7 separate regions of the Homo sapiens genome follow, and regions 2, 3, 4, 5, 6 and 7 are each linked to region 1. The links are contacts of gene promoters, found by promoter capture Hi-C in blood cells and fetal thymus (Javierre and others, 2016). All regions are on one chromosome and are shown on one strand. Each heading gives the region's core, a stretch centred on a gene start or on the middle of the fragment in contact. The rest is flanking DNA. Distances are from core to core; before and after follow the strand shown.

The links. The method cuts DNA at HindIII sites, captures the fragments that hold promoters and counts their contacts. A CHiCAGO score of 5 or more calls a contact.
Region 2: a fragment that was not itself captured here is called in contact with the fragment with the promoter of SH3PXD2A in region 1 in 2 of 17 cell types (megakaryocytes and M1 macrophages); the score reaches 6.1 in megakaryocytes.
Region 3: a fragment that was not itself captured here is called in contact with the fragment with the promoter of SH3PXD2A in region 1 in 5 of 17 cell types (naive CD4 T cells, non-activated CD4 T cells, fetal thymus and 2 more); the score reaches 9.2 in naive CD4 T cells.
Region 4: a contact is called between the fragment with the promoter of NEURL1 here and the fragment with the promoter of SH3PXD2A in region 1, in 1 of 17 cell types (erythroblasts). The highest score is 6.7, in erythroblasts.
Region 5: a fragment that was not itself captured here is called in contact with the fragment with the promoter of SH3PXD2A in region 1 in 2 of 17 cell types (M1 macrophages and M0 macrophages); the score reaches 5.8 in M1 macrophages.
Region 6: a contact is called between a fragment that was not itself captured here and the fragment with the promoter of SH3PXD2A in region 1, in 1 of 17 cell types (M1 macrophages). The highest score is 5.1, in M1 macrophages.
Region 7: a contact is called between a fragment that was not itself captured here and the fragment with the promoter of SH3PXD2A in region 1, in 1 of 17 cell types (total CD4 T cells). The highest score is 5.3, in total CD4 T cells.

Annotation. Positions count from the first base shown.
Region 1 is chr10:103,853,731-103,857,088 of GRCh38, forward strand. SH3PXD2A (SH3 and PX domains 2A) reads right to left here and starts at 1,846. Exons shown (of 15, transcript NM_001394015.1): 1 at 1,465-1,846. The coding sequence starts at 1,536. The HindIII fragment of the contact is 2,015 bases long and covers 934-2,948 here.
Region 2 is chr10:104,260,473-104,263,941 of GRCh38, forward strand. It overlaps GSTO1 (glutathione S-transferase omega 1), which reads left to right. Exons shown (of 6, transcript NM_004832.3): 4 at 2,507-2,605. The region is part of intron 1 of LOC124902497 (a long non-coding RNA gene); the gene reads right to left. Among named protein-coding and RNA genes, the nearest start is that of MIR4482, 6.2 kb to the right of the region's middle. The HindIII fragment of the contact is 1,782 bases long and covers 743-2,524 here.
Region 3 is chr10:104,199,376-104,202,714 of GRCh38, forward strand. The region is part of intron 8 of CFAP43 (cilia and flagella associated protein 43); the gene reads right to left. Among named protein-coding and RNA genes, the nearest start is that of MIR609, 18 kb to the right of the region's middle. The HindIII fragment of the contact is 1,327 bases long and covers 846-2,172 here.
Region 4 is chr10:103,492,053-103,495,652 of GRCh38, forward strand. It overlaps NEURL1 (neuralized E3 ubiquitin protein ligase 1), which reads left to right and starts at 1,653. Exons shown (of 6, transcript NM_004210.5): 1 at 1,653-2,420. The coding sequence starts at 2,336. NEURL1-AS1 (NEURL1 antisense RNA 1) reads right to left here. Exons shown (of 4, transcript NR_120675.1): 3 at 2,509-2,683. RefSeq lists silencers at 1,862-2,011, 2,022-2,151, 2,232-2,331 and an enhancer at 1,998-2,547. The HindIII fragment of the contact is 3,415 bases long and covers 1-2,742 here.
Region 5 is chr10:104,240,727-104,244,222 of GRCh38, forward strand. No RefSeq gene overlaps it. Among named protein-coding and RNA genes, the nearest start is that of CFAP43, 10 kb to the left of the region's middle. RefSeq lists an enhancer at 2,405-2,699. The HindIII fragment of the contact is 475 bases long and covers 1,378-1,852 here.
Region 6 is chr10:103,432,444-103,436,084 of GRCh38, forward strand. PDCD11 (programmed cell death 11) reads left to right here. Exons shown (of 36, transcript NM_014976.2): 23 at 1,505-1,594; 24 at 1,805-1,907; 25 at 2,355-2,532. Among named protein-coding and RNA genes, the nearest start is that of CALHM2, 18 kb to the right of the region's middle. The HindIII fragment of the contact is 679 bases long and covers 1,685-2,363 here.
Region 7 is chr10:104,224,168-104,227,914 of GRCh38, forward strand. CFAP43 (cilia and flagella associated protein 43) reads right to left here. Exons shown (of 38, transcript NM_025145.7): 3 at 1,294-1,390. Among named protein-coding and RNA genes, the nearest start is that of CFAP43, 6.3 kb to the right of the region's middle. The HindIII fragment of the contact is 496 bases long and covers 1,557-2,052 here.

The sequences.
Region 1 (3,358 bases), core at 596-3,095:
AGTGCCATCTGTTGAATGCAGTGCCAAGCTCAGCTGAGGACTACAAATGAGAACCCTTAAAACTTAGCCTGCAACATTTGAGAAAAATAAACCCTGGGATATACAAAGGGACATCTGTCCACAGAGCAGGTTGACCACCTGGTGACCCAAGCCCTCCAAAAAGAGCTTTCTTGTAACAGCAGCAGAAAATGCTTGCTGGACCAGATGACACAAAAGAAACAACTCTCTAAGGGTGTCAGGGACTGGACCCGACAGGCACCCACCTCCCTGCCTAGTCAACCTGCCTCCACATTTACCTCCTCCCCATATGAGCCCAGCCGCATTTGCTCAGCTGTAAAGAAACTCAAAGTTCAGAGCTACACTGGTGACAAAGGCAAAAAGAGTAGCCCGAGGCTGACATTGCCACAAACCCCAGTCCCTTTGCAACAGTGGAAGAAAAGGCACTTCAGAGATCAATGTACAATCCAGGGCAGCAACCAGCGCCTGTTTTAACTGTTAAGATTAATGCTTTGAGCACTGGAACTGCTCCTCTAAATACCCAATTTGCAAATAACATGCAGTCCTCTGTGCTTGGGTCTCTTCTATCTCAAGTACAGGAGCACAGACGCTCAGAGGGGTCAAGGACACCGTGTTTACTTCCTAAGGTGTGAGGGATGGGAAGACAGGACCGGCTGAGATGAAAGGGGAACTGTCACATAGGCTCTGGAGCTGCCCCAGTCAACCTTAACCCCTTCTCATTAAAGTTTGGGGGAGGAAGGGGGAGGGGCGGTTCCTCGGAGACCACAGCAAACATTCGCCTCCTCGTGTCTGGAGATGGAGCATCACTTAAGAGGAAATGAACCCGGTTAAGGGTCACGTCCAGAGGAGGGATAAAAGGAAAAGCCACAATTCTCCTCACACCGACGGACACAATGGCTTTATGAGGGAAATCAAAGCTTAGCGCGGAGGGTGGAGGTTGGGCAAGGGGGCGGCGGCTTCCTTCTGCCCCCAGCCCCAGGCCTAGGAAGGCAGAGACAGAGCTGGCGTGGGAGGCAGGGCGCGAGGCTTCCTTCTCCAGGGCGAGCTCTGAAAGCATCTCGGGCTGTGTGAGCGTGAGCGCCCAGGGCCCCTGGGGAGGGCCGAGGAGATGCGCTTTCCCGACGGGGCTGCTCTGTGAGGGGTTGACGAAAGCTCCCCCCACCATCCATCAAAGGCGGACAGATGACTTCACCGTTGTAACAGACAAGGGCAGCCACTTGCCAATTCCAATGCCAAAAAAAGAAACCGGGGGGGCGGGGGTGCGAAGGAGGAAGGACAGAAGAGGCTTCCCTGGAGATCACAGCCCTGCGAAGAAACTCCACGGCTGCTGGCTGCCCAGTGGGCGCTTAGCTTCGCGACCTCACAGCTGGGAGGGGCAAGGGGCCATCCGGGGCCCTCCCGGGACCTCGGGCCACCCCCAGCAGGGTCGGCGGGGGCTGTACTCACGTAGTGCTTGGAGGGGTTCCTCCGCTTCTCCACGTCCACCACGGTGGCATCCTGCACGCAGTAGGCGAGCATCTTCCCCCACAAAGCGAGTGGCGCCCCCGGCGGCGTCACCTTCTCATCCCGGCCGGGCTCCGGCTCCTTCTCCAGCTGCCGGGGTCCCGGGGCCGCCCGCCACCCCGGCCCGGCGCGCCGAACGCTGCCCGGACTCCCGGCGCCCACAGGTCCGGCCCAGGGACGGGGGAGGGTCCCGGAGGGCGCGCGGGCTCCGTGCGCCCCGGGGGACTCCCCGCCGGCCTGCCGCGCGCCCCTTCACTCCCGCGCGGCCGCCGCGCTGCGCTCGCCCGCTCGCTCTCTCCGCCGCCCGGTGGGTCCGGCGGGAACTGGCGGAGCAGAGGAGGGGCGGGGGTGTGTCCCGTCGGCGAGGGGACGGGGCGGGGGCCCCGGAGCCTGCTGTCAGCGTCCTGGGGAGGGGCCGGCGGCTCCCCTTCGCCGCTCTCCGGCTCGGGCTCCGGGGGGATCGGCGCTGGCGGAGGCTGTGGGCGCAGGAGGCGGAGGCAGGGCCTGGCAGGCAGGGAAGGGAAGGGAGGGAGGGGAGAGAGGGGAAGCGCGCGGGGAGGGGCTCCGGGCCGGGGGAGGGGCTCGGGGCGACGGGGAGGGGGCTGCAGCCCGGCCCCAGTGGCAGGGGCGGGCCGACGAGCCCCCACCCGAGCCCAGCGCGCAGCCAGCGGCCTGGCGCAGCACCGGGCTAGTTCGCTAGGCACAAAAACTCAGGGTGGCTTCGGGGGGAGAGGGAGCGGGGAAAGTGAGCCCCGCGCGCCCCCATCCTGGCTTTCCGCCTCGGAGCGGATTTGTGCCTTTTTGTCCCCACTTTTATGTCCCCCTACAACTTCCACCCCCAGATCTCTTTAATGAGAAGTAGTTTATTACCCGGCTGTTACTGCCCAGGCCCCCGAGGAGGAGATGGGAATGGGGAAAAGGCCAGCTTTAAATCCTTCAAGCCAGAGCCTCTTTGGACGAACCACCTGACCCTCTGCAGGTCATAAAGGGTGAATTCTCCCCGGAAAAGTGATCGATTCGTTGCCTGAGTCGTCCATCGATCTGGGCTTGTGTAACTACCCTGTGCATCATTTACCAATGACAACGTTACAGACTCTGCATAACACCACTGCCTTAAGCCCAGGGCTCCCCTGGGGACCCTCCCCAAGCTGGCGACAGGGAAAGGAGCATACAATGGTGGGAAAACCCACCCGGTTGGAGGCCAGCTCACCGTGAGCCCCAGGCTCTGGCATTCTCACCCCTCCCTCTAGTCTGGAAAACCCACTTTCCAAGCCACTTGTCCGTGGTCCCTGGACTTGGAGCACAGTTACTACTTAATTCAATGTAGCTTCCCCCCTTCTAGTTCAACATTTTTTTCCCATTCTGCTTTCAAACATTTAAAGGGTAGTGTTTTCACAACTACTCCAGTTGTTACACAATCACAATAAAGCTTTGTGACTGTGGACCAATGTGAAACATCTGAAAAGAGGACAAATAATTTTGTGACCTAATTGCATTAATACTTTCTTCTGCGCGTTCTCTAGACTGTCAGAACCCAGGCACAGATCTAAGGCTTTATTTATTCACATATTTGCTCCATACAGAGTAACCCACTATTCCTCCAACCTTCCTGGGGAAGGGCGCTAGGACACCAAACGATGGCACGGGACAAAGAAAAAAAAAGATGGATGGGCCTAGGGGGCTCAGACTGTGAGAGATCTTGGCACCAGGCCAGAGCTTCTTGGTCAGAGAAGATGACAGAAAACCTTTGTGAATGTTGGAGCAGGAGTCCTGGGGGAAGGTGCACCTGGTAATGTTGCTCAGCTGATGGGAAAATGGGAGGACAGGGCACTACCTC
Region 2 (3,469 bases), core at 384-2,883, 410 kb after region 1:
TTCTTGTCCTTATAGCCATAGCATCAAGCAGTGAGCATCTACTTTGTGTTGGCAATAACTCAGATGACTGAATAAATAGCAATCCTGTAGAAGAACTGTTTGTACCTTACTTAGCATCAACACTGTGGATTAGTTCAAACAATTAGTATTAACAAAGAAATGACTAAAAGATGTGTGTTTAGACACCAAGAATAGCATGTCTGGTTATATGCCTATAACATTGTCACCTTGGTAGTACGGTCAGTATATAAAGGATTATCTTTAGAGAAAAAGATGGTTAAAGAAATGCCCTAAGAGAGAGTTATAGGGAAAACATTCTGTTTTAGGAGACATTATAAAGGGAAGCCAATGGGACAGGAAGAGTGAGTCATCTGCTTAGTAAGATGAGGGTGAAAGAATAGTAGAGGCGGCTGCTGTGAAAGATAATGTAAAGGGAACATGACATTTTCAAGAACGATGTGGGAGAGTTTTACAAAGTAGTAACAAGTTAAAGGCATGCAGCTTCAAGACACGAAGTCATCAATACCAACCAAAAAAAATAAGCCTAAGTGGTTCTTAAAGAAAAATCTCTTTGGTCTGGTGCCAGTTCTGGAAAACTTTTTTTAGTATGGCTGGAATATAAAGTGTCAGGAGAAGAGATAAAAGGGGTAACTTTGGAGAGGTAAACAGGAACTGGATCGTGAAAGGACTTGTAGGACACGTCAGAGAAAATGAGCTTTAAAAGTAAAGCTTTTAGACATGAAGCTTTACTTTCATGCATAAAGCTACTACTTTAAAAAGTAGTCACAAGAGATTCATTGTACTATCTAGAAAGAAAATGAGATTTAAAAGTAATGCTGAAGATGCCCACCTTTACTTCCCTGCTTGGGTTTTAAAGGAGAGGTGGCTTTATGTACATATGACCCTGCTCTCCTGGCCACAGCCCATCAGAACAGAAATGTACCCCACCCCACACACCTGGGCCAGTTATCTTCTCTCCTGGGAACTTGGAAATGAGACACAGAACTAAGACAGTAAAGGTTAGGACAGTAAAGACAACTAAGCGTTGGGGCTCAAATAATGTTAATTAGAGGCTAGAAAAACCAAAGCCACTTAAGAAATAAATTTTTAGAGGAGCAAGAATTAAAAACATTGCAAAGGGACTGAAGTATGCAAAGTAATATGGAGCAGAAATGTGAGGAAAAACAGACGAAAGACCAGGCAGACCCAGGTGGAAATGTGGATGAAAGGGCTGCCTGAAAGCCTTCAGTCCCAGTGAAGGCAGGCTGAACTGATGTGGATGGGATTTCATGGGATTCTATATTTTTACAAGTGCCTGTTTACTTAAACTAGGATGAGTGGACTTCTGCGTCTTGCAATAAAATGATACCAAAGACCAAAGTATTAAAACACATAAACACCATCACGAGCATTAAAGCATCTGATGCTACACCCATCAAGTCTTTAGGTAGTCGGTCCCTTTTGAACAGTCTCCTGGTGTCCTCCCCAACAAAGAAATCAGAAAAATTTTCTTCCCTAGCTCTTTGCAGTTGGGGCCAAGTTTTGTGACCTAGGCTCTTCCTGTCAGACACACACATAGAGTTCAAATCAGAAACGAGCAAGGTAAGGAAACAGGCTTGGTGGGATATCTGCTTAAGATATTCAGCTCTCCACTGGTTTTCCTGGTGAGAGCAGCGGCAGAGCTTCTGGGTTTCAGCAGTGTGGGTTACAAGATAAAATTCCAGAGTAGAAATGGCATCAGTGCCAGTGGTGTTAGCAGTTATCTCAGACTCTACTTTCTGGCAGCCTCACAAACTGAAGCATCTGGTGCTCAGCTTGGACTGGCAGCAGTGAGTGCTTCCCATTAGGCCATTTCTCAGCATGAATTTGGGATGTTCTGTCTTAATTCCAAGCCTGTTTGTTCCGCCTCCCAATAATTCTATGAGCCACTCAGTCTCCTTTAAAGAAAGTTGTGTTGGCCGGGCGTGGTGGCTCAAGCCTGTAATCCCAGCACTTTGGGAGGCTGAGGCAGATGGATCACCTGAGGTCAGGAGTTTTCAGACCAGCCTGGCCAATATGGTGAATCCCCATCTCTACTAAAAATACAAAAATTAGCCTGGCGTGGTGGCGCACGCCCATAATCTCAGCTACTAAGGAGGCGGAGACAGGAGAATTGCTTGAGCCCGGGCAGTGGAGGTTGCAGTGAGCTGAGATCGTGCCACTGCATTCCAGCCTGGGTGATAGAGCATGACTCCATTTCAAAAAAGAAAGAAAGTTGTTTCTTAAACGTGCCAGGGTAGCTTCTGTTATTTGTAATTTATAAAATCCTGACCAAGCCAGCATTTTAGGCCACAAAACTGTTCCTAAGACCAGTCCATTACCTCTGTGAGCGCAGGAACTTGATGCACCCTTGGTGTTTCTAGAACACCTTGACACCAGGACTGTAAGGGTTCTACCATATTTTTATGTGAGGGGGCCGATACAGTTAGCCATAAACTGATAAACTAAGAAATTATTCTCTGTCTAGGTGCCATCCTTGGTAGGAAGCTTTATTAGAAGCCAAAATAAAGAAGACTATGCTGGCCTAAAAGAAGAATTTCGTAAAGAATTTACCAAGCTAGAGGAGGTAATTATTTCTCCTAGCTATCATCAGAGTAAACGATAACTATATCTACCCTCCTTTTCCTCCTATTCTTTTCTTTATATTCCCACTTTCCAAGTCACTTTAAGGTAATTAGGAAAATTCCCCTAAACATTTTTGTTTACAGCAGACTGCTGTTATAAAGCAGAAAGCTGTCCTGCTTAAGATATAAATCAAAACACCTAAACAGACTTTGTCATGGGCTTGCTTTTAAAATATTCTGCTAATGTTAAAATAACAAGGAAAAAGGAAATTGTACCCACGTTTCCACAAGTTTTTATGTATCCAGTTTTCCATGCTTGTTTGCAGTCCTTGTCCATATATTTAAAAAAAATTAATATAGCTCTAATCAGAGCATAGATATCATTCTGTGTCCTGCTTTTTTTCCTGTGTCCACTTAGTATTACATACTAAATATTTCCCACCAGAAAAAGTTTGCAATGAACAGTACAGACACTTGAGGGAAGCCCAGATGTATTTTACCTTCTTTTGGGGACAGCTGACATTTGGGCCTTGGAGTCTGTCTCTTGGCCTTGAAATATTTCATTCATGCTAAGCCTGAAGTTTTTACTGACAGAAGACATAGTTCCTGTCTTTCATGGGAATGCATTTTAACATTTTATCAGTAAGCATGATGTTTGCTGTAGGTTTTTCAGAAACCTTTTTTTCATTATAAAGTTCTCTTCTATTACTAGTTTGCTAATTTTTAAAAAAGTCATAAATGTTGAATTTTATTGAATGGTTTTTCTGCATCTGTTACATCTATTGAAATGTTCATAGAATTTTTTCCTCTTAATCTGGTGAATATGGTGCTATTGACAAATTTTTTTTTTTTTAATGTTTAACCAT
Region 3 (3,339 bases), core at 259-2,758, 350 kb after region 1:
TAGGAGTTCAAAATTTGGTAGATATTTACTAATGTTATCTTTCTTTCATTTCTTCAATAAATATTAAGTGGATACACAGCGCCAGTCACTGCTTTAGATGCTGGGGTTACAGCAGAGGATAAAACAGACAAAATCCCCTGCCCTCACGGAACTTACCTTCTGCTGGGAGATTCAGACAATAAATAATATAACCAAATAAAATATACTGTAAGTTAAACAGTGATAATTGTAAGAAGAAAAAGAAAATATAACAGAGAAGGAGAACATTATATAGCAAAATAAGAGGGTGAAATTTTAAAGTGCATGTTTAAGAAAGACTTCAGTGAGAAGGTGTGGCAGGCCAGGTCTCACTAACAGCTGAACAGGCAGGCCTCCATGACAACTGTTTCAGCAATGACTGAGTGGTTAAGTTAAATATTAAAAGCTAATAGAGCCAGTGCCCTTACACAAACGCTTGAATGTAACAAAACCCCACCAAGAGTTTTGCCTAGGCCTTTCCTGGGCCTTGAAGCATGACAAGATAACGAAGGAATTCTCAACAGGACCCACTTAGAATTAAATAAGTTTTATTGGGGGGTCTGAAGAAAATCCCCAGACCTCCACAAACAAGCTTTATTGGGGGTCTAAGGAACTCCCCAAACCTCCATGATTTAGCAGGAGACAAAATAAGGGTAATCATACCTGGCACTTGAACCCATCTAGATTAAGTAAATTTACTGAGGCTCCAGAGGAAGGTCTTCAGGACTCAGGCCTTAGTTATATATTAGAAGTTAATCACTTACGTCTTTAGATGAATGCACACTTGCACATAGACATATAGCTTAGAAGGTATATAAGCTCTGGAAAGCTTTGTAATATTGAGTTGGTCCAGTGATATTTTCCCAGCCTTCTCCCTGCACCCGGTTACAGAAATAAACTCCCTTCTTTCCCAGTTCATCTGCATCTCGTTATTGGGCCAGGAGAACAAACAGCCCAACCCTCAGTTCGGTCCGGGAACAAAGGTAACTTTAGAGAAAAGACTTGAAGGTTCATGCTTGTAATCCCGGCACTTTGGGAGGCTGAGGTGGGCAGATCACTTGAGGCCAGGAGTTTGAGACCAGCCTGGCCAATGTGGTGAAACCCCATCTTTACTAAGAATACAAAAATTCAGCTGGGCATGGTGGCGCACACCTGTAGTCCCAGCTACTCAGAAGGCTGAGGCATAAGAATCACTTGAACCTGGGAGGTGGAGGTTGCAGTGAGCCCAGATCGCACCACTGTACTCCAGCCTGGGTGACAGAGCAAGACTCTGTCTCAAAAAAAAAAAAAAAAAAAAAAAAAAGACCCAAAGGAAATGAGGAAACTACCCATGTAGATTCTGTGGGAAGAGCATTCCAGACAGAGGGAAAAGCCAGTACAAAGACTCTGAGGGAGAAGCATGTCTGGCAGATTCAAGGAAACAGCATGATGGCCAGTGTGGCTGGAGCAGGATGGACAAGAGTTCACAGTAGTAGCAGATAAGGCCAGAGGTGGGGATTGGAGTCCACGTCATGAAGGGCCTTTAAAAACATAGTAAGGATTTTGGCTTTTTCTCAGAATGACAGGAAATCACTGGAGGGCTTTGCCTAGTAGAGAAAAATGCTTTGCTCACCTTGGCTGCTATGTTGAGAATACATTGTTTATTCTATCATGTAATGAAAGAAGTGTATTAAAATGTTCCATTAATATCAATGCTTTGTTTCTCCTTGTCACTCTGTCATGCTTTGTTTTAAATCTCTAAGGCTATGCTATTAGGTACATACATATTTTAAGTATTCATATATTCCTGGTAAATTTAATATTTTATTATTCTGAAATAAGCCCATTTATCTTTAGTAATGATTTTTACCTTAAAGCCTAATTTGTCTAATGTTAATATATTTCCACTGGTTTTCTTTTGGTTAATGTTTACATATCTTTTTCCATCTTTTTATATTTGGGTTTAAACATAGATTTTAATTTATGCTTTTTGTTTATCTCAATTGTTTTGCATTTCATTTTCTTTCTCTTTTTTACCTTGTTTTGGGTTAAACTTTTTTTTTACATTTCACTTTCTCTAGTTTGGAAATTTCATCTACTGTTCCTATTCTTTTAGTGGTTACCTTAGAAGTTGTAACATGTGTACCTAATTTATCAACATCAAAAGTTACTTTAAGCTTTATTCTCCTCCTGGGTTATATGAGATCCTTGGAACACTTTATTCTATATACCCTGCTCTGCCCCCCCCAACTTATATTATTGTTATTTGGGATTTTAGTTCAATATTATTTTTAAAACTACTTTCACATTTTTTTTTTTTTGCTGTTGTATGCAGTGTTCATTTACTGTACATCTTCTACAATGTGTCATTCTCCACCTATTACTACTGCTCTTTATTTTTGTTGCATCATAGACCTTCCCACCTGGGATCATTTTCCTCTGCCTGAAGTAAATTCTTTAGAATTTTCTCTAGTGATAGTCAGCTGCTGACACACTCTTAGCTTTGGAGTGTCTAAAATGTCTTTTTTCACCCGCATACTGAAAAGATGTTTTCATTGGGTATAGAATTCTAGGTGGTAATTATTTTCTTTCATTACATCAGGGGTCATCAAACTTTTTCTATAAATAGGCTGACAGTAAATATGTTAGGCTTTGCAAACCATGTAGTCTCTGCCACAACTATTTAATGCTGCCATAGTGGTGTGAAAGAAGCCATAAACAATACGTTAGTGGGTGTGGCTATGTTCCAATAAAATCTTATTTGAAAAACATGCAGCAGGCTAGTTTTGCCCCATGGAGCCACAATTTGCTGAACCCTGCACTACACTGAAGATATTATTCCACTATTTCTTACATTATTGCCACAGAGAAGTCAGCTATTAGTCTAACTGAAATTCCTTAGAAGTAATCTGTCTTTTCTCCGACTGCTTTTAAAATTTTCTCTGTCTTTGGTTTTCAACAGTTTCACTCTGGTAAGTCTAAGTGTGGATATCATTTTATGTATTCTGTTTGGGATTCACTGGACCTCTTAAATCTGTAAATTCATGTCTTTAAGCAATTCTGGGAAATCCCCAGTCAATATCTCTTTAATTATTGCCTCTGTCCCACTTTCTCCTCTCTGGACTCTAATCAAACATATGTTAGATCTTTTCACTGTATTGTTCTTATCTCTTATGTTCCCTTCTGTATTTCCTACCCTTTTGCTTTTCTAGTATCATTCTGAATAACTTCTGATCTATCTTCGAATTCATTTATTCTCTCTTTGGCTATGTCCAACCTTTTGTCAGACATGTTCATTTAATTTTTACTTTGCTAGTGTATTTTTCTTCTTTAGAAGTTCTA
Region 4 (3,600 bases), core at 403-2,902, 360 kb before region 1:
AGTGTGTGAGATAGTGTAGCGGTGTGTTAGCACATGTGTGAGTGTGTTGCCATTAAGAGCCTGTGGATTTCTGATGCATGAGTCATTAGCTGGGAGTGAGCCTTGGGAAGATACTGCCCATAAATAAGACAGCCATCCCTGACCTGCTGTGGCCATCTGCAGCTGCCTGCACACGTGATCCTGGGCATCTGGGAGGCTGGAGGCCGGGTTCGGGGCTGCCTTTCCCTCCAGATTCCAGAGAGACAGTGGCTGTCACAGATATTTCTAGCTTGCCTGGAGTCCCAGACATTTAAGGGTAGAATGCCTGGAATGGGGATGGAGAGAGGAGAGTAGGAGAGGAAAATAAAGGGTGGTTCAGGAGGCTCTGCCCCCAGGGATCTCAGTGGAGCCTCCTGGCCCACAGTGGGAAGCATGCATTCCACAATTATTTTCTGAGAATCTGTCACATGCCAGGCATTCCCCCAGTGGGTAAGGACACCCTGGTGAACACGACTGACCTGTGCTCTCCCCTCACAGAGCTTATGTTCTAGCAGGGAGGCAGAAGATAAACGAGGAAAGGCTACTTGTAAACAAGTTCCATATAAAAGCTATGATGAAAATAAAATGGAATATTGTGGAAAGTGACTGACAGTGGAGGGGGTCCTTTAGTTGGGGCAGTCAGGGAATGTCAGGACACGAATTGTGCCTAGATAATGAGGAGCTGCCAAATGGAGACTTGGGGGAAGAACCTTTATTACAGAAAAGGATACATGAGATGTCCCCCTGCCCACCCATGTCTTCACTGGACTCTGGATCTGAGTTGCTGAAGCCAGAGCAGGGAGCTAGAGATGACTTAGAGGAGCAGGAAGTCTGATTCCCTGGGGGGAACCTTGGAACATCTTCCATCCCTGATAGACCAGGAGAGATGCCCCGGGTCCAGGAAGGAGAAGAATGACTTCTGTTTCCCTTCCTGAAGGCTTCTTGGTGCAGTGTTGAGCTACAGGAAGGCACTAGCCACATGAGCAGGGCCCTTGCTGAAACCCCCTTCCTCCAGGAAGCCTTCTTTGACTGCCATAGGCTGCAGAGGCTCCTCTCCCCCACCTTGTTATAGCTAACAGAACCACTCAGTTCAGAGCTGGTGGTCTTCTGATGATCTGTCCCGGAGATCTGTTCCCTCAGCTTGGCCAGAGCTCCAGGCTTGTGAGTCTGGTCCGCGGGCATTCAAAGGCCCTCAGTGGCATCTGTGCATCAGTGAGACTGCCCGGGGTTCCTGCTCTGAACCCTTGCCCTAGTGCCCCTAGCCTGGCTGAGAACGGAGGGTCAAGTGCCGGGGTTCTAATCTCAATTACTTTATCCAAGCATCCGCTCGCTCATTTACATGTTTCCCTGGGCTCTCCACTCTGCGCCAGGCCCGGTACCTGGAGCTAGGGAAACCGAACATTAGTGCTGGCTCGCCCGCCCCCGCATCCGGGGAGCTCGGCGTTCTCGCGGCCCTGCTCCCCTTGTTTTCAAGTGCAAGTTCCATGTTTCCGTGCTGGGAATAAGGCCAGCCCCGGGTGCCACCATACTCGCCTGATGTCTTACCCCGACCCGCGCCGCCGAGAGCTTGCGGCTACGGGAACGCGGCGCGCCCCGGGGCCACATCTGGCCTAGCGGGCGCGCGCGTGTCACTAAGACGCTCATTCACCGGCGCAGCTGTCACCATAACAACCGGAGCGAGGGAATCCTGGAGACTGCCGGGGCGGGGGGCGGGGGCGGCGGTCGCAGGAGGGACCCGGCGCGGGCGGGACCGCGGCGGTCGGGGGACACCAGCTGCGTCGGAGCGCCCAGAACGCCCCGCGCTCCGCCGAGCCCCGCTCCACGCAGACCCGCGGGCGGGAGGGAGCCACGCACATCGCCGCCGCGGCCGTCTCCGCGGGGCGGTAACCGAGCCTGCCTCGGAGCCGCCGAACGCCCACGCCAGCGACCCTGACTCTATGGCCCCGGGGGAGCGCGCCGGAGCCGCCGCGCCGCCCACCCCCAGCCGGAACCCTAGCGTCCCGGGGAGCAAGCGGGGAGCCCCGGGCGTCCCCGGCCCCGGCCCAGGGCCCTGCTTGTGGCCCCCGCTCCCGCCACGGGGCATGGGAGGCAGGTAGCCCAGCCTGCGCCAGGACACCCGTGGCGGGCGGAACCCGCCAAGGACCGCGAAGTCCAGAGAAAGGAAGCTGAGGAGCTGCCCGCCCGCCCCCGGCTGCAGCCCCAGCAGGGCCCTCCCCCGGTGGCGCGCACCCGCGCGCGCACACTCGCACACCGCACCTCAGCGCCTGCCCGGCCTCGCCCCCACCCGCGAGCGCCGAACCTCCTGGGGCCGGATGCCATGGGTAACAACTTCTCCAGTATCCCCTCGCTGCCCCGAGGAAACCCGAGCCGCGCGCCGCGGGGCCACCCCCAGAACCTCAAAGGTAGGCTCCCCGGCCGAGCGCTGCTGGAGGACTGGGGCGCAGGTGGAGGGCCAGGGAGGTGTGGTTGGGGAGGGCGGGCAGACGCCACCTGTTGTGCGTGTCTGGAGGCCGGAGATGCACCTCTGGCCGTGGAGTGGGCTGGGGGTGGAGGGCAGCCGGCGATGATGGTGATGGAGGATGGCGTCCCGCGGGGTCTGCGCAGTTCTGTCTGCTGGCACTGGGAACGTCACTGGAGTCCCCTCAGGCCATGGTCTTAGGCGAGCCTGAAGAGATGGGAAAGGATGTTTGCCAGGTCGATAGGGGAGTGGGGAGTGAGGAGGGAAGCTTGGGTCGTCCGTGTCTCCAGGGAGGCACCTCGATGGGTCTCCTTTCCATCGGCCCTAGGGCTGGAGAGACCAGGCTGGGAGCACTAGTTGCATTTCCAATGGGAGGGTTTTAAAAATTCAGGACAGGATTACAGCAGCCTGGAAGAAAGGGTCAGAGCTGCTGGTTCCTGGGGTCCTTTGCAGCCGTTGGGTTTTTGCATCCATTGAATTAGTTTGATTTCTGGTTTTCCCAAAGACCAGATATCCAGTCAGAGCCCTAGAAAAGAGGGTCTGGGAGCCTTGAAACAGAGGGACATTTACTAGGAATGTCTTTGCTCTTCACCTCCCCAGATCCACTCAGCACCCTCAGGGTGGCCCTAGGCCCAGTCTCCCCATTCGGAGCCTGCCATTCCTGTCTTGGATCTTCCAATGCTGTCTCTGACCTTTGGAAGACACTGCTGGGTCCTCCCGGGCCCTCAGACCCTACTAAATTCCTTCCGGAAGGTGCTTTTCTGTCACCTCAGAACCAGTGGCACTTGTCCTGGGCATGATGGCTAAAAGCCAGGAAGGGAAGCCCTTGGGCTTTCAGAAAGAATACCCCACTTCCTAAGCTCCTCAGGTTATGAGAAGGATAACAATAGTGCCCTTTAACACAAGGCATCGAACTTTCTCAAACACATTTTCAGTGAGCATGGACACTGCTTGGGGTAGTCAGCAGAGCAGAGCTAATCACACTATACCCATTTTACAGATGAGGAGAACCAAGGCTTGCTTCAGGTTCCCAAAGCCAGCCAGACCTCGGCGCTAGGTGCTAGGCTGTAGACCCCTATCTTTTGACTTGGAATTCTGTCCCTTCTTTTGCTGAACAGTTAACT
Region 5 (3,496 bases), core at 365-2,864, 390 kb after region 1:
GCAAATCTCCACCTTGCCACCAACAGCCTAGTCCTTGACAGAATACGCCTAATCCTCAGTGTGAGGTTTTATACTTTTGTAGAACTCAGCTTGTATTAAAGGCTAAAAGAGCAGTGGTTAATTCAAGTTCATGGAGCAAGCCCTAAAACCAAACTAGTCCACAGCCAGTCACAGAACAAAAAAATCCTTATTTCCCACTAAGGGATCATTTCAGTCCTGGCTTCTGTAGGGTTCCAGCCAAATTCCAAGATAATCTGCAAGATGAAATTTCACTAAGTTTTTCACCCATTAATTAAGTTTTCTATGACCATTTAAACATGGGAAAAAAATCATACAGCATACTAGAACTTATTTTATTAAGTAGATGAGTAAGTGGTTTCCTGTTTATCAGCTAATTATTTGCTTTTTGTGAAATGCACCTTGTTTATGCAAAAAGTCAAAAAAATAAGTTGGCATTGTTTCTCTGTGTAAAAAGAAATGTAAATAATTAATGTTTTTAAAATAAAGGAATAATCTGCTGTGATAGAGAGTATCTAGTTATTCTATGGCAATTGACCCCTTTTATAGCAGCGATGACCACAATTTACTAAGCAGCTATTACGTGTTTGGAGCTCCATAGATTCTGAATGCTCCCACCAACTATGCTACATAGGAACCTGTGGCTCAGAGAGATGAGTGAGACTCAAGATTACACATTTAGTTAGTAGGCAGAGTTGGATTCAATCATGGGTTCACCTGCCCCTGAAGTCTGCATTTATTTTTATTTTTTTTTTGTAGAGATGGGGTCTTGCTATGTTGCCCAAGCTGGTCTTGAACTCCTGGTCTCAAGCAATATTCCCACCCTGGCCACCCGAAGTGCTGGGATTACAAGTGTGAGCCACTGCGTCTGGCCTAAAGTCTACGTCTTCTGCACAGTTTTTCTCTCTGCTCTGCCGCCGCATCCACGCATGTTTGTATAATAATAGCTAACTTATATTAAGCCACTCCTCTGTGCCTGGCATTGTACATCCTTATAAAACCTGTATTATTTAATCCTTATTGTAGAGACAGGAAAGATGAGTCTCAGAAAGTTAAGATTTTTTGCCCAACATCTCACAAGTTTCAAATGAACTTGAATTCAGGTAGTTAATTGTCTGAAAATAACTCTTCTTTCCAGCAGACTTGTAAATTTCAAAGTAAATTGGACATTTAGTTTAAATTTTGCATTTTTCTGGAAAAAGAGAGGAAAAATAGGAAATCCTTCATAATTTCCAAAAGTTTTAGAATAAATAATATGGGAAGAGGCTACATTGTTATGGATATCCTGGGCCACTTAGTGAAAATGGCTGAATGTTATTATTTGGTGCGTTTAATCTACAAATTCAGACTTCATTTTCAAGCTTCAAATATTTTCGAGATATCTGTGGAGTATAGCTTTATGACTAAATTTTGTGTCCCAAGATGCTTCCTTTACTCTTGATGCTGAAATAACTACACTAGGTTAAATACAGAAAGGGTTTGTAGGTCAACATTCAGGAAAATAGCACACTGAACATGTGGTTTTAAATAATGTTTTAATGAAGAAGAATGAGAAGGTTATTTTGCAAGACAGAGGGGATTGTCACATTACGCTTACCTAGAATTCTAAGGCAAGAATATTAATGGAGACTCATAAATCATTTGTTCAATTATTTTCAAATTAGTTCTTAAAATTTAAAAGTCAAATACAAATTATAAGATTGAAAATTAAAAATTCAAATCAAAAATTTTTAAAGCAAATATTTTTAATTTAAATGAAATTTATTACATATTTTTATATAAATTTGCAATTCTAATATTTATTATTTATCTAGTTGTCAAATAATTGGTATCAAGCTTCATACATGTTATATCTAGACCTACATACCTACAGAAATGTAGGACTAATACATTTTTTTCTATATTGCAAAACATTCTTCAGCATCCATGTGCAGCTATTGCCAATACCACACTAACTCATGACAACCCCTGGAACCAAATGGAGTTGGAATCAAAGAGACACAAGAAAATAGTCACTTGATTGTACTGGGAAACAATACTTAATTATTCACAAAGCAATACTGAATGAATGAATACACTCATGCTCTCTGAAAAAGGGAGTCAACAAATTCCTTAATATATTTTTCTGAGATGGAGTCTTGCTCTGTCACCCAGGCTGGAGTGCAGTGGCACAATTTTAGCTCACTGCAACCTCTGTCTCCCAGGTTCACCCTATTCTCCTGCCTCAGCCTCCCGAGTAGATGGAATGACAGGCACACGCCACCACGCCTGGCTAATTCTTTGTATTTTTAGTAGAGATGGGATTTCGCCATGTTGGCCAGGCTGGTCTGTAACTCCTGACCTCAGGTGATCTGCCTGCCTTGGCCTCTCAAAGTGTTGGGATTACAGGCATGAGCCACAGCACCTGGCCAATATCTTTTATCTTATCCAAGCATTCCCACCCTCCCCATACTCCTTAAGTAGTTTCCATCTCTGATGTTGAAAGAGGCACAACACACAAACCTCACAGTGTCCAAACACAGTAGCCTTTTGTTTCAAGGACATGGGGCTAACGTGAAGTCATGTGGCAGATCTTCAGAGTCACATCATGCTGGGAGAGTGTTGAGAGGTGGATCCCACATGACAGTGGTGTAGGCCCTCTAAAGGGTGGGGCCCATGGCAGGGGCACACCTTGTGGGGTCTATGGGTGGCACTATTTTTACTGGTGGAAGGTATTTGAGTTACGGGGGGCAAATCAGAACAGGTGTGTAACTCAACTCTTGCCTCTTCAGAAGAAAGAATTTGAGGGGCATAAAGCAGAAAAAGAGACCGAGGCAAGTTTCAGAGCAGGAGTGGAAGTTTATTTTAAAAGGCTTTAGAACAAGAAAGATAGGAAAGTACACTTGGAAGAGATCCAAGCATGCGACTTGAAGAATAAGCGCAATGTTTAACCTTGATCCTAGGACTTTATAGGCTAGCCCCTTTCCCATAATTCTTCCCTTAGGGTGGGCTGCCCACACGCACAATGCCTCTTTACCTTTGGGAACTGAGCACACACAGTGTGTTTAGGAAGTTGTACACATGGCCATCTGAGGCTTTCTGCCCTTTTCTGGGGGAGTGCCCCTAGAAGGTCATACTCTACCACTGTCTTTTTTTTTTTTTTTTTTTTGAGACCGAGTTTCACTCTTGTTGCCCAGGCTGGAATGCAATGGCGCAATCTTGGCTCACTGCAACCTCCGCCTCCTGGGTTCAAGAGCTTCTTCTCCTGCCTCAGCCTCCCAAGTAGCTGGGATTACAGGCATGTGCCACCACACCCAGCTAATTTTGTATTTTTAGTAGAGATGGGGTTTCTCCATGTTGGTCAGGCTGGTCTCAAACTCGCGACCTCAGGTGATCTGCCTGCCTCGGCCTCCCAAAGTGCTGGGATTACAGACGTGAACCACTTCACCCGGCCCATTTTGTCTGTTAATGCATATGCCCAGAAAGTTGCTTCTCTCTG
Region 6 (3,641 bases), core at 774-3,273, 420 kb before region 1:
GCTCGTAATTCATTGTTGGTAGGTTAATTGTAGAAATGGAAAGTAAAATACATGGCAAGATTTAGAATATAAATGTATATAATTTGGATTTTAGATTCATGCTTTTCATGAAGTTCAGGTGCACTGTAAAACAACATGAAATTGGGTGCCAGATTATGTGTTCCAACCCCAACTGGAACAGGAGTTCAAAAAGGAAGGAAAGCAGCCTGTACTGGTTGAAACATGTAGGAGAGGCGGCTGGATTGGGTTTGACCTTGAAGAATAATACCTCTCCATTGTTGCCAGATTCCTCTTCGATGAGCATCTTTGAGCATGATCGTCTCTGATGCTTGATCCCTTCAGTTACCTATTGTCTATAGACATTCATACACCCCAGATGCCTTAGCGTGGCAGATAAGGCTCTTCATAATCTGACCTTCCGTGCACCTTGTGTGGCAGTCATTCTGAAAAGCTTTTCTGTCTTTTTCCCTTCCTGTCTTTATTCATGCTGGTTTCTACATCTGGAGTACCTTCTATTCCAATTGCCTACTGCCCATCAAGGTTCAGCACAGATAACCTTCCCTCGTTACTAGTTCCTGTAGCATGTTGTACTTCCTACATGTTGCTTGCTGTTGTAGTTATTTGCACACTGATTTGACTTACTGCTTGTAGGCTGTAATCTCCTTGAAGGCAGGCTCTGGCTTTTATTTATCATTATGATGCCATGTGCATAGTAGCTGCTCGATAAATGATTTGTTAAGTTGACTAGAAAATTGGAGTATGTATTTACGGCCAGGTGTGGTGGTTCACGCCTGTAATCCCAGCACTTTGGGAGGCCGAGGTGGGCAGATCACTTCAGGTCAGGAGTTTGAGACCAGCCTGGCCAACATGGTGAAACCCCATCTCTACTAAAAATACAAAAATTTAGCCGGGCCTGGGGCGTGCGCGCCTGTAATCCCAGCTACCCTGGAGGCTGAGGCAGGAGAATCACTGGAACCCAGGAGGTGGAGATTGCAGTGAGCCGAGATTGCCGCCACACACTCCAGCCTAGGAGACAGAGCGAGACTCTGTCTCAAAAAAAAAGGAGAAAATTGGAGTGCATATTTAGGGCAAGACACTGCATAAACAGTGAAGGATCCAAATCCAAATTGGTTTAGAAATTAAAAATTGGCCTCTGGAGATGGTTAACAATCGCTGGGCACAGCTGAGCTTGGAGGAGGCTACAGAGGTCTGTGGGATTGGTTCTCCAGTTTGAGGACATCTCTGGAGTCTCTTTTGCCTCCTGGTCAGCTGAGACCCTGGAAGAGATGCACATTCTGCTAGGCTAGCAAAGGTTCTGAGCTGGAGTCTGAGGGAAGCTGGTGAGAAGTGGAGGTTGGGCAAGGGCAGTGGGATGGAAGGGTGGATTCCTGTCTCTTGGAAAAGTGTACTGGGGCCCTTTCCACCTTGTGGTTTTAGGAAAGTTTTAATGGCGGGAAACCTTGTATTTGTATTTGCCCTACTCTGGTTCCTTTTTTTCCCTCAGTACAATGTGGTGAAGAAATGGCTTGAGGTGGAGATTGCCCCAGACATCCGGGGGAGAATTCCCTTATTGCTCACTTCTCTGAGCTTCAAGGTCAGTGTGCTTGAGATCCCTGGAGAGGGGACCCAAGTTCCCTAAGCTTGGCCCAGTGCCTGGTGTGTGGGTTTACAGTGGATTTGAGGAAGCTTGTTCTTTATTTAAGGGTTGCTTTGGGAGATACTTGCTTTGGAGACTTAAATGCTGTGGTTTTGGATAAATGACAGCCTTTCTTCAAGCATCACAGGAGTTTTTTTATCCTTCCAGGTTCTGAAGCATCCAGATAAGAAGTTCCGGGTTGGCCAGGCCCTGAGGGCCACCGTTGTTGGCCCAGATTCCTCCAAGACCCTCTTATGTCTGTCCCTCACAGGTGTGGGGATGAAACAGTGCCTGGTCGGGGAAGGGGAGCGGCAGGAAGGGGTGGGATGGGTTTTCAGCTATTGCTTGAGTTGGAGGACCCCTTCGGTATTGGAATCCTCAGAAAGCCTGGTGTGGGACCTTCTTGGAACAGTTTTTCTCTTGGGCTTTGCTCTGGCCCAGTTACTCCACTGCTCTCTGAGTTACCTTTACCTATACAGGTTACCCTTACCTACACAGGTGTTTTTCTCAAGTCCCTGGGAAAGAGTTGTCCACCACTTGGCCCTGAGGTCCTTGGCTACATGGCAGGGTGATCTCAGTCTAGATGGTTCTGGATCACTCAGCCCAGATACCCCAAGTCTGGGCAGCCTCCACCTTCCCCAGCCTGTGTGTGGCTGGCATTCCCGCTCCTCCCTTAGCTCATTTCCTCTTCCCTGAATCAGGTTGGTTCTTCCACCAGGTCCTCACAAGCTTGAGGAAGGGGAAGTGGCCATGGGCCGAGTGGTGAAGGTGACTCCCAACGAGGGGCTGACCGTCTCCTTCCCCTTTGGGAAGATAGGAACAGTCAGTATATTTCACATGAGTGACTCCTACTCCGAGACGCCCCTGGAAGACTTCGTCCCCCAGAAGGTTGTCAGGTAAGCGAAGTGTTCTTCCTCTTTTCACCTGTCTGTGGAATTGGTATATTTAAAAAAAAACGTTGTTGTAATACATGACTTTTTATCAGAAAAACAGGTATATGAAATAGAAAATGAAAATTTCTGTAACCCCTCTGTTTCTCTACCACTTTTTGCCATTATGTACTTTGATTTCTATCTTTCTAGACTTTAATGCATATATATATAGTTTTTCTTTATATAAATAATAGAATATCATTTGATATACTGTTTTTTTCTCATAGTTTATCATGAATTTTTTTCCTTTTCTATGCTAATATATCAAAATCTATTTTGTCCTTTTACCTTATTTTAAAACGTTTGTTTAGTATTCTGGGGTTTTTTTAATTGAAATTTGTGTAACCAATTCTCTGTTGATAGACAATACTTTTTTTGATAGACAATAATGTTGAAGTATCTTTGTACATATATTTGGGTTTTTTGTTTTTTTTTAATTGAGACAGAGTCTGGCTGGAGTGCAGTGGCGTGAGACAGAGTCTGGAGTGCAGTGGCGCGAGACACAGCCTTTTTTTAACTGAGGCAGTCTGGCTGGAGTGCAGTGCGTAGGCTGGAGTGCAGTGGCGCGATCTCAGCTCACTGCAGTCTCCTCCCAAGTTCAAGCAATTCTCCTGCCTCAGCCTCCCAAGTAGCTAGGATTATAGGCATGCGCCATGACGCCTGGCTAATTTTTGTACTTTTAGTAGAGACTAGGTTTCGCCATGTCGGTCAGGTTGGTCTCGAACTCCTGACCTCAGGTGATCTGCCCATCCTGGCCTCCCAAAGTGGTGGGATTACAGGCATGAGCCACGGTGCCTGGCCCTTTTGCATATATTTGGATACTAATGCAGGTATGTTTGGTAAATAAATTCCTAGAAGTGAAATTGATGGGTTACATACCCTCCAAAATGACTGTGCTAATTTATGTCCCCATTAACAGTAAATATGACTGTCCATTTCTCACACCACTATTGGCACTGGATATTTTAAATTTGTGTCTTAGCCATTGGTTCAGCAAAAATTGGTCTCTTGTTTTTTTCTTTTTTTTTTTTTTTGAGATAGAGTCTCGCTCTGTTGCCCAGGCTGGAGTGCAG
Region 7 (3,747 bases), core at 555-3,054, 370 kb after region 1:
CGAGTAGCTGAGACTACAGGTACCTGCCACCATACCCAGCTAATTTTTTGTATTTTTAGTAGAGATGGGATTTCACCGTGTTAGCCAGGATGGTCTCGATCTCCTGACCTCGTGATTTGCCCACCTCAGCCTCCCAAAATGCTGGGATTACAGGTGTGAGCCACAGCGCCTGGCCGATGGATGTATTTATTATCTTGATTACGGTGATGGGTTTATACATAAATCAAAACTTATCAAAGTATTTACCTTATATATGAACAGTTCATTATCTGTTAGTTATACCTCAATAAAGCTGTTTTAAAAAAATTTTAGGGCGGTGGCTCATGCCTGTAATCCCAGCACTTTGGGAGGCTAAGGTGGGTGGATCACCTGAGGTCAGGAGTTCAAGACCAGCCTGGCCAAAATGGTGAAACCCCGTCTCTACAAAAATACAAAAAATTAGCTGGTCATGATGGCGGGTACATGTAACCCCAGCTACTCGGGAGGCTGAGGCAGGAGAATTGCTTGAACCTGGGAGATGGAGGTTGCAGTGAGCTGAGATCGTGCCACTGCACTCCAGCCTGGGGGACAGAGTGAGACTCCATCTCAAAAAAAAAAAAAAAAAAAAAAATTTACATAAACTAAATGTGGCTCCCTGAATCTAGGTACTTACATTTTTGTATAAGAAATGTTAGTATGTTATCCTTTAATCATTTCTGGAATATTTTGTACTTCCCCTTAATAAGAAAAATATCCTCTTGAAGGGGCTTATATCATGGATAGAAAAGGGAGTATAGCCTTAAAGTTGGCCACGTGAAATGATCCAGGAAAGACTAGAAATGTGTCTTAACCACAGGATTTCCCATACAGTGGGCAAAAGTGGTATAATGTTCCACTCTCTGAACATATAATTGTTCTAATGTCTCTAACAACAATTACTTTAAACTGAACTCTAATATAGAGACCATCTCAATTTCAATATTAGCAGGAAACATACGAACAACTCCAAGATGCCATTTGTTTTTTTTAAGTGAAACTTTATGTATTTATAAATATATTCTCTATCTGAGAATACATAAAGCATGTTAATGAAAGAGAATGACAATAACTAATTTAGTTCTTATATAGTTTTTGCTCTGACTGCCAAATTTTATGCCTAAACATAGCAACTGTATTAAAACTTGTGATTGGCATTTTTTCCTTCTATATTTCCTTGTTTCAGATTTTTCATGTCTATTTCCTTCGATAAAATCCAGAAGAGTAAGAGGAAAATGTAACCCAGTAAAAGGAATTCCACAGGATGCTGAAACTTACCAAAGGGCCAGTTCAAATTCTGGGAGAGAGGAGTAACTAGCCAGGTAGGTGCCACAGTAACTGAATGAAAGTAAAGTGTAGTCCAGGAGAATGTTGCCTAAAATATAAAATCCATTATCAGGATTTGATTATGTTAAGACCATGTTCAGTTAACTATGGTCTTACAGTTTATTTTCCTTTGCTAATGATTTTCACGTAATTCAAAAGCATTTAACTATTAGAATAAGAAAGATCCTGGCTAATTTCTAAGACCATGAACAGAAAGCTTAGAGCAAAGCTAAGATCCATTTGTAAAATATATTAAAGTGAATTAAGACCATTAGGTTACTGTCTCTAGACTTCAATGCAGAACTGAGCATACCGCACCATGTATGTCCCAGCATGGTCTGAAATGACCCAAGAATAATCTCATAAATATATGAGACATTGTAATTAGAATAGTTATTCAGACATCTTTAAATATCTTGGGAAGTTGTAATAATTCTAGCTTACTTCCTTATTTCTATTATCTTAGGCCATATCTGGCCCTTAGCTTAATATCTGCCAGCTTTTGGAACAGCTATAAAAAGTGACATACTCCTTTGTACCTATAGTTGACAAAAAGCAACATGAATTCCAAAGTCTTAGCAACAACATGTTTTAAAATGCGTATCATGGGGAGGCCAAAACAAGAAGCGCCTGTCTCTGCTTCCCAGTACAGAGTGGTCTGATTTTCCCTCTTCTTCATCTGCTGTTCTTCAGTGGGGTTCCACAGGTGCAAGCTTTGCCCTCATCTCAGTCTGTCTTTGTATGTTTGTGTCTCTATTGCTTGTTCTGTGGATTTTTAATAGCTGTTTTCTGCTTTTTTTCTCATTCTCATTTTAATTGACCATAATATAATCCTAAAATTTTGCTTTTGTCATTTATTGAATATATTTAGCATAGTCTAATCAACAAAGAAAAAATGTATTTATTGAGCATTCACTACAAAAACTAGTTTTTCTGTAGGCAGAGATCTTAATGATTTTTAAATGCTTGCTAAACAGACGTTTCCCCCCACAATTGAAGATGACCAACTTTAGATATTCTTTAAATCTTAGAAAATATGGTATTTGAAGAAAATGCCAAAAAAAAAGAGAGAAAAATATACCCTCTATAATCCTACTACCAAACTTGGTAAATTTCTTTCTAGTCTTTTCTTCTGTGTTTACTTGAAAAAATACATACATATATATTTTCTTTAAATATAACTTTGCTTTTTATAGCTATACTAGCCATAGATTAAATATTATATATGAGGCCGGGCGAGATGGCTCACACCTGAAATCCCAGCACTTTGGGAGGGGAAGGCAGGTGGATCACTGAGGTCAGAAGTTTGAGAGCAGCCTGGCCAACATGGTAAAACCTCGTCTCTACTAAAAATCAAAAATTAGCCGGGTGTGGTGGCAAGCACCTGTAATCCCAGCTACTTGGGAGGCTGAGGCAGGCGAATCGCTTGAACCTGGGAGGCGGAAGTTGCAGTGAGCCAAGACTGCGCCACTGCACTCCAGCCTGGGGGACAGAGCAAGACTCTGTCTCATCATATATATATAATATATGATAATCCATTTTTAAATGGAATTGGATCATAGTGTTGCCTCCTATTGGTTTTTTATTTACGTTATATTGACCATTTTATCATTATCTTAACACTTCTTTAAAAGTGTGATTTTTAATGTTTGCATAATACCCCTTTATAGTATATTTTATTTAACTATATCCATAATACTGGAGATGTAGGTTGCTCCAACCTTGTGCTATTATCATAGTGCTTTTTAAGCTCATTTGCATGTAAATCTTTGACCATATTTCTAACCATTTCCTAAAAATTGAATTCGTCTTGAAGTGAGTATACTGGGTCAAATAGAGTCAATATTTATTTCACAGAAAGACTCTATCAATTTATAGTCCCACCTTCAGCAAATAAGAGTGCTACCAATTTCACTGCATTCTACCTAGCAATTATGATCATAAAAAAGTTGTGACCTTGATAGGCAGAAAAATAGCATCTTGGTTTAAATCACACTTTTTAAAACAAATCTTGAGATGAAACATTTTTTGATGTCTTTGGTTATTTGGAGTTTAGTGATTTGTCTGGGTTAATTTCTTTTCCATTGTTCTAAGAGGCTGTTTGTTTTGTTCTTGTTTCATTAATGCTCTGAAAATATTTGATCATATTTGTTCCAAATATTTTACCTGGTTTATTATTTCCCTTTTAATTTTTCATGGTGTTTTTGATGTTAATCAGTTTAAAACAGATATACAATCAAATATGTCTGTCTTTTCTAAGTTTTTGTTTTGTGTGAAAAGTTCTTCCCCTTCCTGGAATCACTCCTCTATTCTACCATGTTTTCTACTTTTTTTTTTTTTTTTTTTTTTTTTTTTTTGAGACAGAGTCTTGCTATGTTGCCAGGCTGGAGTGCAGTGGCGTGATCT